5 separate regions of the Homo sapiens genome follow, and all the other regions are linked to region 3. The links are contacts of gene promoters, found by promoter capture Hi-C in blood cells and fetal thymus (Javierre and others, 2016). All regions are on one chromosome and are shown on one strand. The core of a region is centred on a gene start or on the middle of the fragment in contact, and the rest is flanking DNA. Distances in the headings are between cores, read along the strand shown.

Evidence for each region. The method cuts DNA at HindIII sites, captures the fragments that hold promoters and counts their contacts. A CHiCAGO score of 5 or more calls a contact.
Region 1: a fragment that was not itself captured here is called in contact with the fragment with the promoter of TEKT2 in region 3 in 4 of 17 cell types (endothelial precursors, erythroblasts, megakaryocytes and 1 more); the score reaches 6.5 in endothelial precursors.
Region 2: a contact is called between a fragment that was not itself captured here and the fragment with the promoter of TEKT2 in region 3, in 3 of 17 cell types (endothelial precursors, megakaryocytes and erythroblasts). The highest score is 6.2, in endothelial precursors.
Region 4: a fragment that was not itself captured here is called in contact with the fragment with the promoter of TEKT2 in region 3 in 1 of 17 cell types (erythroblasts); the score reaches 5.4 in erythroblasts.
Region 5: a contact is called between a fragment that was not itself captured here and the fragment with the promoter of TEKT2 in region 3, in 5 of 17 cell types (erythroblasts, megakaryocytes, M2 macrophages and 2 more). The highest score is 10.3, in erythroblasts.

Annotation. Positions count from the first base shown.
Region 1 is chr1:35,916,978-35,920,033 of GRCh38, reverse strand. AGO1 (argonaute RISC component 1) reads right to left here. Exons shown (of 19, transcript NM_012199.5): 16 at 2,307-2,441; 17 at 1,611-1,712; 18 at 780-979; 19 at 1-535. The coding sequence ends at 427. Among named protein-coding and RNA genes, the nearest start is that of AGO3, 13 kb to the left of the region's middle. The HindIII fragment of the contact is 2,677 bases long and covers 393-3,056 here.
Region 2 is chr1:35,900,179-35,903,605 of GRCh38, reverse strand. AGO1 (argonaute RISC component 1) reads right to left here. Exons shown (of 19, transcript NM_012199.5): 9 at 2,013-2,132; 10 at 1,536-1,658; 11 at 1,269-1,402. Among named protein-coding and RNA genes, the nearest start is that of AGO1, 19 kb to the right of the region's middle. The HindIII fragment of the contact is 8,640 bases long and covers 1-3,427 here.
Region 3 is chr1:36,082,117-36,085,400 of GRCh38, reverse strand. TEKT2 (tektin 2) reads right to left here and starts at 1,307. Exons shown (of 10, transcript NM_014466.3): 1 at 1,252-1,307; 2 at 324-531; 3 at 113-238. The coding sequence starts at 479. RefSeq lists an enhancer at 1-737. The HindIII fragment of the contact is 20,325 bases long and covers 1-3,284 here.
Region 4 is chr1:35,940,670-35,943,632 of GRCh38, reverse strand. The region is part of intron 1 of AGO3 (argonaute RISC catalytic component 3); the gene reads right to left. Among named protein-coding and RNA genes, the nearest start is that of AGO3, 11 kb to the right of the region's middle. The HindIII fragment of the contact is 8,649 bases long and covers 1-2,963 here.
Region 5 is chr1:35,847,071-35,850,364 of GRCh38, reverse strand. It overlaps AGO4 (argonaute RISC component 4), which reads right to left. Exons shown (of 18, transcript NM_017629.4): 16 at 107-208. Among named protein-coding and RNA genes, the nearest start is that of AGO1, 34 kb to the left of the region's middle. RefSeq lists a silencer at 796-948. The HindIII fragment of the contact is 1,671 bases long and covers 1,100-2,770 here.

The sequences.
Region 1 (3,056 bases), core at 482-2,981, 170 kb after region 3:
CTCAAGCCCCTCACTTTCCCATCTAAAGTATCAAACCCAAACCTAACCAGCTTTTGTCTGCAGGGCTACAGAGTTGACCTTACCAAGCTGTCAAGCATGAGTCTTTAGCACTGTGAGTCACATGAGACACCTGTGTGTATGGTGGGCACCAGTGCTGCCCCTTTTGGTCCAGTGGGGTCAGGGCCAGATGTGACAAGATGGGGTGAGGGGTGGGGGACATGAGGTTGATATCAGAGATTTCTGGCTGGTGGTCTGTCTTGCTGGCCCTGTTCCCCACTCTTACACCACCTCTATAGAAGGAAACAAGGCATCCTACACTCCTCCCTACCCCACCTCCCTCCTCCTTGCTTCCTCTGGATTTGGGTGGCACAGCTCCTGGGGCTTGGAAAGCTTTCTTCTATCCAGTGAGGTAACAGCGTTCTGCCTTCAAGCGAAGTACATGGTGCGCAGAGTATCCTGGTGAACCTGCACGGCTTTGGCCAGGGCCTGGGGGTCCCGCCCATTGCTCTGCCCCGATATGTGGCTCCCCTCTCCACTGAAAAGGAAAAAATGAAAGAAGTCCTTCCTGGTGAACTGAGAGCTGCTGCTAATTCCCTCGCCCAGCCCTGGGATGCCAATTCCCATACCAACTTAAGAGAGAAACCCAACCCAGGATTGGGCAGACGAGCCCAATGACACCAAATTGGACAGCACTCATTTCCTTCTACCCAAGGAAAGTTAAGAAGATCTGGCACAATAGGCTGAAGCAAAAAGGAGGCCAACCTGATCCCAGGCCTCACCTGTCATGCTCCTTGTCCACCAGGTGGTATCGTGCCCGGAAAGCCACCAGGCGGGCATAGTAGGCAGGTGCTGGGATAGAGACAGAGCGTGTGCATCGTACGTAAGTGTGGCACAGCTGGTACGTCAGGATCTGGAGCTCATCTGCTGTGAAACGGTTGTCATCCCAAAGAACATAGTAATGGGATGGTCGGCTGGTGCCCTGGGAAGATAGGAAGGTGAGGGGTCCCAGGCTGGGCAGAGAAGATGGCTGATAATAGGGGAACAGGATCACTGTTAAGAATATGGCTGGGTAGATAATTCACCCATGAACAGGCAGATGCAAAACTACCAATGTCATAAAGCACTCTTCTTATAAGCAACCTGCAAGTGTACTCAGGGCTTATTACGACAGCAGTCCTGGCCGGGCACAGTGGCTCATGCCTGTAATCCCAGCACTTTGGGAGGCCAAGGTGGGTGGATCACTTGAGGTCAGGAGTTCAAGAACAGCAGGGCCAAAATGGTGAAACCCTGTCTCTACTAAAAATACAAAAATTAGCTGGGCATGGTGGCGCATGCTTGTAATCCCAGCTACTTGGGAGGCTGAGGCGGGAAGGCAGGAAGACTGCTTAAACCCAGAAGGTGGAGGTTGCAGTTAGCTGAAATTGTGCCACTGCACTCCAGCCTGGGGGACAGAGTGAGACTCCGCCTCAAAACAAAACAAAACAGAACAAACAGAAAAGAGAGCAATCCTAATTTGGATGTCATTCAGTGATGACTGATACATTCTAGAGGCAATATGAATGAACAACTCATCTTTGACCCATTGGAACCACAAGATAAAGCCCAGCTACCTGGATGCCTGCGTGGCTGCACAGATAGAAGTCAAACTCAAATGGGTGGGTGATGTTGGTGTCCACTGTGGTCCCAGCTGGGATGTTACCACTCTTCCCAATCTGTATAGAGACAAACACAACCAAGATCCCAAGACCTGCCTGGCCCTAACCAGGACCCTGGCTCAATTCTACTCTGATTTCACCAAAATCCCAAGAACAAAGCCAAAGTTGCTATTCCCTGAGGGTACTGAATCTTAAAATAATATGCTTCTAAAGTCACACAGACCTGTGTTCAAGTCCTATTAGCTGTGTGATCTTAGCAAGTCGTTTAACCTTTCTGAGGTTAAATTGGAGATAATAATAATACGTACCTCACAGGGTTGCTGTGAGGAAGACGCCTTGTACAGTATCTGGCACATAGGAGGAGTTCAATAAATGGTAGTTCCCTTCCCCTTCTCTAGGAGCTGGTCTATATATGGGGTCTAGGCCAGGGAGCTAGGAGGAGGGAAAGGAAGTATAAGGGAAGGACGGGAGGAGGTGGACACTAGTGAAGGCGGTGGCAGAGGAAGGACCACAAGAGCTAGGAGGAGGGAAGGGGCCAGGGAGGATAGATAGGACAAGGACTAAATCCCCAGCCTTTATCTCAAGGGCTTCTTCTCTATTAAGATAAGGGAGACAGAAGGAGGGGATGGGAGGCCTCAGTCCCTCACTCACTCGCTCATTCTTGTCAGCACAGAAAAGGCGGGTGTGATGGCGTTTCTGCACCACAATATAAGTGATCCCAGGCTGGTAGTCCTTTTCCAGTTTGATGCAGGCATCACGAATGGCCAGTAGCTCATAGTGGAGTATCTAGGCACAAAAAAATGGGGAGGGAAACAAAGAAATACACAGTTCCTCTTGAGTTCACATACCCTTCTGAACTAAGGAGTTGCCACTTGTAATATAACTTTTGGCTCAGTCTCCCTTTATATGCTGATGCTCAACAATTAGAGATGACAGGCCCTTCTTGTCAAAAGCAGCCTTATGCTCAGTTCACTTAATATGCTCCTATAAAACCTTGGCCAGGAGGCTTGGCATCAGAAGACAACACTCATCTGGTTCCTGTGTATAAAGAGACCTAATACCAAGACACAGAACCAAGGTTCACAGAGAAATCACTAAAATCACAATGCCCAAAGTTAGTTTCACACAGGATCAGGTGACTAATGAGAGTTCTCCTTTGGGCTCCAAGAGCAGACAGGTTGTGGACCACCAGAGAAGAGCAGACATATAGTTCCATAATGGGTGCAGAGAGAGTAGGTGAATTCAGTCCTGCAAAGCAGCAGGATTATAAGAAAACAGGCTAGCTAAGGGAAAAGCTAGAAGTAAATAATCATAGGCAATAGTTGCCTGTGGCCGTGGATGTCAGATACAGAGGGTCAAAACTGTATGGTAGAGAAGGATAGACTTTGGAATCAATTAGAT
Region 2 (3,427 bases), core at 506-3,005, 180 kb after region 3:
AGGACTACAGGCACGCACCACTGCACCCCAGCTAAGAACGAATTCTCATGATGACTCCAAGGTCAGCTGAATTCGTCATGGCATACTTCCCCACTACCCTTGTCTAGCCAAAATGGTCGGCTCCATCAACTCCTCCTCATCCCTAGAGTGCATTGACCCCACTCCAGATTCAGAGAATATGAAAAGCAACCACTTCGAAAGATGGCAGTAACCAACTAACTGTATGTTGTATCTATGAAACAACTAACTGAGTTTTGTGGCATTTTAAACCTATCTCAATAAAACTTAAAAAAAAAAAAAGGCCGGGCACAGTGGCTCATGCCTATAATCCCAGCACTTTGGGAGACCGAAGCAGGAGGATCACGAGGTCAGGAAATCGAGATCATCCTGGCTAACACACTGAAACCCCATCTCTACTAAAAATACAAAAAATTAGCTGGGCGTGGTGGCGGGCGCCTGTGGTCCCAGCTACTCGGGAGGCTGAGGCAGGAGAATGGCGTGAAACCCGGGAGGTGGAGCTTGCAGTGAGCCAAGATCGTGCCACTGCACTCCAGCATGGGTGACAGAGCAAGACTCTGTCTTAAAAAAAAAAAAAAAAAAAAAAAAGACTCCAGGTGAGGGGTTGTTGACTTCTTAAGCCATTACTGCCTGGTTTCTTTAAACCATTTGGCTATAACACTTTCCTCATTGGTGCCATCTACTCCCAGCTACGGTGGCACAGAGGCCCTGACAACCAGCTAAACAAGCTGCTCTATTTTGTTTCCAATTAGGAACACAAGTCTTGAAGCTCAGATCTGATTTGCTTCCAACTCTGACACTTTCCTGATGATGTGCAAACTTTGGACAAGTTACTTAACCTCTTTTGAGCCTCAGTCTCCTGAAAATGGACATATCACCACCTACTCACTGTAAAGATGAAATAAGAGAATATAAATTAGGTACTTAAGTATAATTTTGGCGTAAACATTACAGTCATCACTACTACTATTTATTACCAATGATAATAATTATAACAATAATTCAGGCCTCTCTCAGGAGATTCATGCCCTAAAATCATCATCTTTGACATAGATATGGCTCCTTATTAACTTCCCCTGATCACAGATGGATAGAAAAAGAATTGGTAGAAGTTTGAGCCAGAAAGCACAATGCAGGCAGAGTCAAGACAGAACACATTACTGATCAATATCAGCCCCTGTGGACTACAGGAAGGCAGGCAGCTCCAGGGTCCTTCCCACCCTTCCACCCCTACAGCGAACCCTCCTTACTTGAGCACCTCTTCTCGACACTGTTTTTGGGGTGCGAAGCAGGCGATGGCCCAGACTTTGATCTCAATCCCATTGTAGAACTGTTTCCCCCGCATGTCCCAGACACCCTGATTGGGTGTGGCAATGGCCCGGTTCTGGGGATAGGTAGAGGGGGCGCCTAGGTGAGCCTCAGTAGAGTCAGGTGGGTAGGGGAGCAAAAGCCCCTGGCTATACAACCCAACCACCCCCATATGCCCCGAGATGTTGTCTGGCCCTGACCCTGCTCACCCGGCCGCCGTACTGCAAGATGGGCGCCGGCAGCACTCGCCCTGTCACCTCCGTCATGTCATCCTTCACTTTGATCCCAAATTCCTGGATGTAGGGATCTAAGTTGTAGCTGGCATTCTTCATCTGCAGGACAAAAGAGAGCAATCTCAGGAGAACAGGAGCTTGGCAATACTGCTCACCCTCTGGGTATCAAGGAGAGAACCCTAAGGAGAAGCTGGGGTTGGTACGGAATAGTCCTAAAAAGAGAGAGAAAGTGGAAGATGAGGGAAGTGAGGGAATAACACAGCAAAGTAATACAGGAGAGAAAAAGAGACAGAAAGCAAAGTAGCTATACGGTCAAGAAGCAAAAGCAGCCTTATACAGTCCTAGGCAACAAATCTAGACTTGGGTTCTCCTGAAGGAAGGTCCTGCTGGGGCATTAAAACATTTATGCTACCAATGGCCCCAATGACTGAGCAAATGAGTAGGCCCACTGACCAGGCGACTGATCTCCTCCTGTCTGTCTGGAGCGGATCTAGCTGTGGCCTTTATCATGGTCGAGGTCTGGTTGTCGGTCAGCTTTTTAATACAGCGCTGCCCAGCCACAATGTTACAGACCTGAGGAAACAAGAAGGACAGGTAGCTCTGGCTTGAGTACAGTCCACCCTGTACCCAGAGCCCCACAATAAGGAAAGATACCTTGGCTGTCAGCCATGGGGAAGGGAACTGCAAAATCCGTTGTGCATACATGTATTCTCCTCCTGAGTATCATTTGATAGGTAAATTAGAAAATATTCGTGTGCATTGTAAAAGGCGATTCAGGCCGGGCATGGTGGCTCATGCCTGCAATCCCAGCACCTTAGGAGGCCAAGGCGGCCAGATCACTTGAGGTCAGGAGTTCAAGACCAGCCTGGCCAACCCAGTCTCTACTAAAAATACAAAAATTAGCCAGGCATGGTGGCGTGCGCCTGTAATCCCAGCTACTCAGGAGGCTGAGGAACAAGAATCGCTTGAACCGGGAGGCGGAGGTTGCAGTGAGCCCAGATCACGCCACTGAACGCCAGCCTGGGTGACAGAGTGAGACCCTGTCTCAAAAAAAAAAAAAAAAGGGCAATTCAACCGCTTGTGATCCAGAGCCAGATCTGGGCTCAGGTCTCATATTTTATTTATTTATTTATTTTTTTGAGATAGAGTCTCGCTCTGTTACCCAGGCTGGAGTGCAGTGGCACAATCTCGGCTCAGAGACATCTGCCTCCCGGGTTTAAGCAATTCTCCTGCCTTAGCCTCCCAAGTAGCTGGGATTACAGGCACCCGCCACCATGCCTCGCTAATTTTTGTACTTATGTATTTATTTGTTTATTTTTGAGAGGGAGTTTTGCTCTTCTTGCCCAGGCTGAAGTGCAATGGCACGATCTCGGCTTACTGCAACCTTCACCTCCCAGGTTCAAGCGATTCTCCTGCCTCAGCGTTCCAAGTAGCTGGGATTACAGTCATGTGCTACCATGCCCGGCTAATTTTGTATTTTTAATAGAGATGGGGTTTTGCCATGTTGGCCAGGCTGGTCTTGAACTCCTGACCTCAGGTGATCCACCCACCTCCGCCTCCCAAAGTGCTGGGATTACAGGAGTGAGCCACCATGCCTGACCTTCATATTTTAAGGAAGGATAATAGTAACAATCTAAGAGTTGCCTCAAGATTAAATAAAGCACTTAAAGGACTGAGTATAGTTCTGGAACACAGTAAACAATAAATTGTAGCACAGATTATTATTTACCAAAGGACCATATATAGAGCTCTTCTGAATACTGAACAACTCAATATACACAAATTAGATTTCTAAGGCAGCTGTCCAATGGTGACAGGTTGCTCCATCCTGCAACCCACCAGGACTAGGGTTGGTTCTAAACTCCTGA
Region 3 (3,284 bases), core at 58-2,557:
CTCGGATGGACATGCCACTCATGACCCCCCATCAAGGGCTTCTCAACCTAGCTGTGGGGAAGGAGGGGAGGTTTCGGCAGCAGCCCCCGGGCACCCAGTCCTGGATCCCTGCCTGTGTCAGGGCATCGATCTCGGCATCTAAATCTGTCAGACACTTGTCCAGCATCTCCTTCCACCGGTTGACAGTATCAATCCTCTCCACCAGTCGAGTCCTGTTGTCATGTTCATCCCAAATGGTCTGAGAGAGACAGAGCCAGATAGAGAGGGTGTCAAGGGGTTGGGGGCTATCCCTTTGCCCACCCAGCTGAGTTCCCATCCCCAACCTGGTTGTTGGTCTCGTTGCGGAGCACCCGGGCCTCCTGGCGGATCTGATGGGAAGCATCTCGCTGCAGCTGGGCATTGGTGGATAGCAGGTAGCTGTTAGTGTGCCAGTCGGGCAGCTGGAAGCGCCGACTTGGCTTGACGCTCAGCGTGGCCATGGCACAGAAACCAGAAGGGTCAGAAACCCCTAGGCCTGTTCACAGACACCACCTGCAGAGGGAAAACACTGCTGCGGGAGACCTTTCCGGAGACCTCCTGGATCACACGCCCCCTGCGCAGGACTTGTTCCTGTCCATTTTGCTCTGAGCCCTGTCCTGCTGGAAGCCTGCTTGGAGACAGCCCTTGCTTTACTCAACTTTGTGTGAGGTATTAACTAAGTTTCCCTCCCTCCCGTCCCCAGGCGGACACAAACCCCTGGACCTTGCAGGTCCTGGAGCAGGTAAAAAGGAATAATGGAGTCCCGGAAGCCTCGAAGTGTGTGTGAAGTGCCAAATGCCTGGGGGGTAGGCGGATGGCAGAAAAAAATTGCCCTTAATGCATTTTCCACACCTGCCCCCAGCCAACCATGCCTTGTTGATCTTCCTTTCCTTTCTTCCCCAGGCTGCGGGCCAGTCCCCGTGGGGGATCTAAGGGCAGGAGCCCTGTTCTGTCTCCAGGGACGCGTGCCTGTTGGCACTGGGGAGCTGGGGGGCGGCCCCCGGGGCGGCCCCCTCCCCGTCTGGTAGCCGCCACGCCCTCCCGCCCCTCCGCCCTCGCCTACTGTTGGAGGGGAAGGCCGGACAGGGAGAGCCCCGTGGGAAGAGCTGGGGTCAGTCCGGTTCCCCGTCAAACCCCTTTCTTCCCCTCCGCAGGATGATCGCCTTTGGTTTAGATCAGTACCCCGGTCCAGCGCGGAGGAAGGGGGCGCCCCCGCTTCCCTAGCTCCCTTACCTCCTTTCCCGCTTCGCTCTCCGCGCCCCCCGCTCTGAGCTCCAGTGTTTGGCACCACCGGTTGCTAGGCAACCACCCCTCCCCTACCCCCCCAACCCCCCGCGGCCAACGCGGCCTGGGCGCTTCGCTTGGCAACCGCGGCGGCGTCGGGCGGCGTCCCCGGAGGCCTTTAGGGTAGGCGAGGGGCGGCCGGCCGAGCCTGGGAGAGGTGGGGGGCATCAGGGCAGCGCTTTCACTTGATTTACAAATTAAATGAACATTTGTTGTCTTTTCAGACAGGATCTCGCTCTGTCGCCCAGGCTGGAGTGCTGTGGCTCAGTCTCGGCTCACTGCAGCCTGAACCTCCCCGACTGAAGCGATTCTCCCACTTCAGCCTCCCGAGTTAGCTGGGACCACAGGCGCGTGCCACCACACCTGGCTAAATTAAAAAAAAAATTTTTAGTAGAGACAGGGTTTCACCATTTTGCCCGGGCTGGTCTCAAACTCCTGGCCTCAGGCGATCCACCCATCACAACCTCCCAAAATGCTGGGATTACAGATGTGTCACTGCCCCGGCCTAAACAATTTTATTTTGATAAAGGTATGCATAGACATGATAGAAAATACGAAACCAAGTGCAGTGGCTCACGCTTGTAATCCCAGCTACTCCAGAGACCCAGGCGGGAGGAGCGCTTGAGGCTAGGATTTCGAGGTCAGCCTCAGAAACATAGTAGTTGCCAGCAAACGAACAGTACATAGAAAAAGTAGGCTGGGCGCAGCGACTCAGGCCTGAGATCCCAGCACTCTGGGAGGCCGAGACCAGGTGGATCGCTTGAGTCCAGGAGTTGGAGACCAGCCTGGGCAACATGGCGAAACCCCATCTCTACAAAAAATACAAAATTTGGCCAGGCAAGGTGGCTCACGCCTGTAATACCAACACTTTGGGAGGCTGAGGCAGGTGGATCACCTGAGGTCAAGAGTTGGAGACCAGCCTGGCCAACGTGGTAAAACGCTGTTTCTACTAAAAACACAAAAATTAGCCAGGTGTGGTGGCAGGTGCCTGTAATCCCAGCTACTTGGGAGGCTAAGGCAGGAGAATCACTTGAGCCTGGAGGCAGAGGTTGCAGTGAGCTGAGGTGGTGCCACTGCACTCCAGCCTGGGTGACAGAGTGAGACTCCATCTCAAAAAATAGATTAATTAATTAAAATTAAAATCAGGTGCACTCCCCAGCAGGTCCCCTCCAGCAATGGATGGATAGTTAATGTTGTTTACAACATTTCTTCTATTCTGTCTTGCCCAACAACTTTGCCCATCTTGAAGGTCATACAAGGAATGATAAAGGGATGATAATCATGTTTGGAGAGGGCACAACCCTGAGAGAGGTAACTGGGGTATGAGAAGCAATGCTCTGGTGGCACACGCCTATAATCCCAGCTACTCGGGAGGCTGAGGCAGGAGAATTACTTGACCCTGGGAGGCGGAGGTTGCAGTGAGCTGATAACACGCCTCTGAACTCCAGCCTGGGGAACAGAACGAGACTCTGTCTCAAAAAACAAAATGAAACAAAACAAAACACAAAAAAACCAGAGAAGCAATGCTCAATATTCAACCATTTCTTTAAAAAAAGAAGGGAAAAAAAATCATGTTTGTCTTATTGTCTAGTACTGTATTGTCTGGTATTGCCTAGTATTTCTAGGGGTTGGAAAAATATTAACATTTAATCTTCACAACTAATAGGTGAGGTGGGCATTGTCCCCACTTTCTTAGGTAACAAAAGAGACACACTGCTAAAAAGCAGGGAGGGAAACCCAGGTGTTCTGGCCCCACCCAGAGGACACTCTGCTGTGCTCCACACTGCCTCTCATGGGGGGCTGGGATAGAGAGGAAGACAGGTGTGCAGGCCTGGTCCTGTTCTGAGGACTCTGCTGAACCGGATCCTATGAGGTGGGTACTGTTACCATCTTCACTTTATAGGCAGGGAGACTGAGGCATAGGCCAGTGAGGACGTGCCCAGGTCACATCACTAACAAGTGGTACAGCCTGGATTGAAACC
Region 4 (2,963 bases), core at 331-2,830, 140 kb after region 3:
GACCCTTTTACTTAAAAAAAAAAAAAAAAAAGGGCTGGGGGTGGTGGCTCACACCTGTAATCCTAGCACTTTGGGAGGCCAAGGCAGGTGGATCACCTGAGGTTGGGAGTTCAAGACCAGCCTGGCCAACATGGTGAAACCCTGTCTCTACTAAAATTCAAAAATTAGCCAGGCATGATGGCAGGCACCTGTAATCCCAGATACCTGGGAGGCTGGGATGACAGAACTGCTTGAACCTGGGAGACAGTAGCTGCAGTGAGCCGAGATTGTGCCACTGCACTCCAGCCTGGGCAGCTAAGTGAGATTCTGTCCCAAAAAAAAAAAAAAAAAAGATGGGCATGGCACGCCTGTAATCCCAACACTCTGGGAAGCCAAGGCGGGAGGATCATTTGAGGTCAGGAGTTCGAGAATAGCCTGGCCAACATGGTGAAACATCATCTCCACCAAAAAAATACAAAAAAATTACCTGGGTGTGGTTGTGTGCACCTGTAGCCACCAGCTACTTGGGAGGCTGAGGCAGGAGAATCACTTGAACCTGGGAGGTGGAGGCTGCAGTGAGCTGAGATCATGCCACTGCACTCCCGCCTGGGTGACAGAGCGAGACTCCGTCTCAAAAAAAAAAACAAAACCAGTCACAGAATGACAAACACTATATAATTTATATGATTCCACTTACATGAGGTACCTAGAGTAGTCAATTTCATAAGAAACAGGAAGTAGACGTGTGGTCACCGGGAGTTGAGATATGAGCAAATGCAGATTTGTTAAATGGATATAGTTTCAGTTATAGAAAATGAAAAGAGTTGTGCAGATTGGCTGCACAACACTGTGAATGTACCGAACACTACTGACTATACACAAAAATGGTTAAGATGGTAAATTTAATGGTTGTATATTTTACATTTTTTAATCAAAAAAATTTAAAGAAAACCTGTGATGTCCAGCACTAAATTTTTGAAGCTCAAAATACAGCTTTGTTAATCAAAATTCAAACAATAAATTAATAAACTATTATCTGAATAAACTAAAAATTACATTAAAAAAATCTTAAAAGTCCTCCAAATAAATTAAATCCACAATTTAAAATACTTCCACATACATACAAAAAGATTCCAGATCCAGATGGCTTCACTAGAGAATTATACCAAACATTTAAGGAAAAAAATAACACCGATGTTATACAAACACTTCCAGAGAACAGAAAAGAAGTAAACACACCCCAATACAATTTATGATGCCAGAAAAATTCTGGTACTAAAACCTGACAAAAACACTATAAAAAAGGAAAATCATAAGCTAATCTAATTCACGAATATACATGCAAAAATCCTAACAAAATGTTAAATTAAATCCAACAATATATCAAAAGAATGAGTTTGTATCAGGAATAAAAAATTGGGCTAACAATAACTTTTATTCAGTGTAGATGAAAAGAGACTAAAATGCTGCCTGAATCATTTGTTTTTAAATTCCGCTTTGTGTTTTTTTAAAAATCTCTTCAGAGGGCATAATCTTTCCTATCCTAGCCTGAGATAAGTAATACTGTACAAATTCCGTACTAGCCCTTAGTACTGGCTCTGCCAATTATCTAATCATTTGACTGTCACCAAATACTGTCCCTGAATTTGTTTCCTGATCTAAAAAATGAAAATAATACTTGATCTGCCTCTTTCTTATGAAACTTGTCAAGATCAACTTAGAAAATCCACAAATTCTAAAATTTATCAAGTTCTGACTATGTCTCAGGCAATGTGCTAAGTGCTTTTATTTTACACCATGCAGGGCTAAGTTTTTGTATTTCTGGTAGAGACAGGGTTTCACCATGTTGCCCAGGCTCGTCCTGAACTCCTGAGAACAACTGATCTGCCCACCTTGGCCTCCCAAAATACTGGGATTACAGGTGTGAGCCACCAAGCCTGGCCTGCTAGGTGCTTTTACATGCATTATCTCATTTAATCTTCATACCAACCCTATAAAGGAAGGAATCATTTTACAGATGAGGAAAACTGAAATAATTTGCCTAAAATTTTTATAGCTAGTAAGTAGGAGAATTGGGATGGTAACCTGCCATGCTGGACTCTCTGTTCTGTTCCATTAGTTGTTTCTTTCACCAATACCACATTATCTTGATTACAGTAGCTTTATTGTGAGTCTTGAAGTTAGTTAGATAGTGTCAGCCCTCTGAGTTCTGAGTGAAAAAGTGTTATGATCTGACTTAAATTTTTTTTTAAGTATCACTCCAGCTGCTGTATGAAAAATTATACATAAGGGTACAAGCAGGGAGACCAGTCAGCAGACTATGTGGCTGTCTAGGTGAAAGATAATGTTGGCTAGAACTACAGTAGTACAGTTAGGGGAGTGATGTGGATGTGGAAAACATTTAGAAGGTAGGCCTGACAGGAATTGTTAAATGGACTAGATGTGGGGTATGAGGAGAAACATTCTCAAGGTTTTTTGGTCTGTACAACTGAAAGAACAGAAGTGTCATTTACTGAGATAGGAAAGACTCAGTGATAGTAGCAAGTTTGGAGGGGAAATCAAGAGGATTTTAAGGATATGCTAAATTTGAGGTGTCTACAAGTAGATGAATAGTAAGCAGTTAGATGAGTGTGGAGTTCAGAGGAGAGGTCCAGGCTGGAGGTGTAAATGTGGGTGTCCTCAGCATAGAAGTGTTATTTAAAACCACTGGATTAGAGATCAGACAGACTGTGGCATGGATACAGAATACTAACCCCAAGGATACTCCCAATATTTAGAAATTAGGGAAATGAAAACAGCAAAGGAACTGGAAAAGTAACAGCCAACAAGGTTGGAGGAGGACCTGGAGAGAGTGGTACCCTGAAAACCAAATGGAGAAAAACAGTGTTTCAAGAAGAAAATGTCATTAGATGTGGATGAAATAAAATGAAGATCTGGGAACTATTGGGTTTAGCTAAGTCTTTGCTGACCTTGATAAAAACAAT
Region 5 (3,294 bases), core at 686-3,185, 240 kb after region 3:
TAACAAAGTTAGGCACGGTGTTAAATAACAAGTCGACTCAAGCTAGTTGCTGAATTTGCAAACATCTCCCTATCAAGTCAAAGATCTGAACCAGCTTCCAAATTACCTGAATTCCTGCATGACTACAGAGGTAAAAGTCAAACTCAGATGGATGTGTGATGGTACTATCCACTGTAGTGCCTGCTGGTACATTGCCACTTTTCCCTACCTACAAAAAACAAAAAAAAGTAATTAGTCATCAAAGTGCCAAACTGTGGTCAGGCCATTTTTTTCTTTTGTGTGTTAATTGGGAGCAAGTTGGTAAATGTCTCTTAAGTCTTGAAAATCACTTTCATTCAAGATGTTGAATCCTCTGTAACTTTCCCTTAGCCCAACCATTTTAACCTATAGTATTTTCACAAACAAATATGTTCCAGGATCTCTTCAGGAGGATACGGACAAAAATATTTTACCCGTGGCTTTGGGCTACAACATTATTATGTATTTACAGATGACACAGTGGTATGTTCACAAAGGGAAAAAACATTTAACATTTAAGATAGATAAACTTTCTGAGAAAAAAAGTTTTATTCCTTACTTGGAGTAAAAAAAATTCACAATTTTCAGTAAAAGATTAAGGAATCTTTAAACTGGTTTACCAGGTTCAACATAACTAGTACTTTTTTTTTTTTTTTTTTTGAGACAGCGTCTCACTCTGTCACCCAGGCTGGAGTGCACTGGGAGGATCACAGCTCACTGCAACCTTGGACTCCTGGACTCAAGGAATCCTTTCACCTCAGCCTCCTGAGTAGCGGGGGCTATAGGCACACATGCCATCATGTCTGGCTTTTTTTTTTTTTTTTTTTTGAGACACGGGGTCTAATTTTGTTGCCCAGGCTGGACTCAAACTCCTGGGCTCAAGCAATTCTCCCACCTTGGCCTCCCAAAGTGCTAGGACTACAGGTGCGAGCTACCACATCTGGCAATAACAAATACTTTATTAATAATAAAAAAAAAGTCACTGGCAAATGGTTATCAGGAAGAAAGCACTGAAATGGGAACTAAAAAATCAGTTTCAGATCTAGGCCTAGCCTTGCAACTATATACCTTGAACAAAGCTTATTATCTTTATACCTCAATCTAATCATCTATAAAATTAGGTGATGTTCTCTTACCCTTTTAAAATTCCAAGCAAAAACTCTACAGACAAAATTTGAAAATCAAATTTCTAGGAAGGCAAGAGGGGAACTTCAGAAATGGATTACAAGGGAAGGAATTACATCTTGCTATTTGGTCACCCTCTTCTGCTGTACAGCAGAGTTCAGTATGAACACATTTCTTTAGCATACAGGCACAAATTTGATGGGAGTTTATTTGGCTCCATTTTAACTATTGTTACCTTAAGCTGAAGATCATACACCTATGCATACATAACTCTATGAGTATAGAAAAATCTCCTTCCATCAAATGCATATGTGATCTTGGGTTCCTAGCTGGATCAGAAGAAATCTAGTTGGTTCTAGCATTTTTTTTTCCCCAAAGTGTGTTCTTTAGGAATATTAGCTTTGCAGGATGTGTTTAGGTATTTTATGGTGAAACAAACCTGAGAAATATGGGATCAAATTAAAGTTAAAAGTATTTTTCTACTGTATGACTCAAAACCTTTATTTAGTCATGTATAATCTTTAAAAGGGATATAAAGTATATAGCATTTTCTAAATTTATTTTACCCTTAAAAAAAAAAAAAACTCTCTGGTTCTACATATGACAGCCTGAAGAGGTGATGCCTTGGAGAAAAGGGAATCCAGGCCTTTTCAATTCACCAGTTATTGCTTGAGCACCCATATGACTGCTAGGCTCCGCAGCAGATGTTGGGGATGACAGCCAGGGGCATCAAGAGAACTAATAAACTTGCCTTCCTGACTTCATGAAAAGTGTATACAATAAACTGTAACACAATGTCATAAGGGCATATGGGAAGCATTGGGAAAAGCTGATGAGGAGGAAATAGGTGAGCCATGCCTTATAAGTAGGAGCTGAAAAGGGAAGTTGGGTAAAAAACAGGAAACACTCCAAATACCCCTAAACTCAGAAATGGATAAGCAAACTGTGGCTCATCCACATTATGAAATACCACTCACAATAAAAAGGGGCAAATTACTGATATATACACAACTTGGATGAATCTCAAATGCCAGACTCAAGGGCTATGATTCTATTTATATGATGTGCTGGAAAAAGCAAAACTGTAGGAACAGAATACATATCAGTGGTTGCCAAGGGCTGGGAGTGAAGGAGAAAGGTTAACTACAAAAGGACACCTGAAGATTTTTTGGTATGACAGAATTATTATACAGTCAGCCCTTGGTATCCACAGGTTCTGCATTCAGGAATTCAACCAACTGTGGATATTCTTTAAAAAGGTTTGGATATTCTAATTATACCCTGATTTGATCACTGCACATTATTTGTATAAGAATTCCTATGTAACCCATAAATGTGTATAATTATTATGTCAATTAAAAATAAATAAAAATATAAATTTTAAAGACCTGACACAAATACAGAAAATTGTTAACATGTTTAAAAATTTAATTTTAATATGAAAAAAATTAAAAACAATAAAACATAGCATTTACACTGTATTCGGTACTAAAGCAACCTAGAAAAATATTTAAAATAATTCAACAGTAAAAACTTATACACATTTTAAAATATAGTATAACAACTATTTAAGCCTTTACATTGTATTAGGTATTATAAGTAATCTAGAGATCTTTTAAAGCAAGCTTGTCCAACATGCAGCCCAGGATGGCTTTGAATGTGGCCCAGTACACATTTGTAAACTTGGGCCGGGAGCAGTGGCTTTCATGCCTGTAATCCCAGCACTTTGGGAGGCCAAGGCAGGCAGATTACTTGAGCTCAGGAGTTCAAGACCAGCCTGGCCAACATGGTGAAACTCCATCTCTACTAAAAATCCAAAAATTAGCTGGGCATGGTGGCATGTGCCTGTAATCCCAGCTACTCGGGAGGCTGAGGCAGGAGAATCACTTGAACCCAGGAGGCAGAGGTTGCAGTGAGCCGAGACTGAGCCATTGCACTCCAGCCTGGGTAACAGAGCGAGACTCAGTCTCAAAAAAAAAAAAAAGACCAAAAACAAATTTGTAGACTTTCTTAAAACATTATGAGATTTGTTTGTGATTTTTTTTTTTAGCCCATCAGCTATGGTTAGTGTATTTTATGTGTGGCCCAAGAAAATTCTTCTTCCAATGTGGTCCAAGGAAGCCAAAAGATTGGACACCCCTGTTTTAAAAC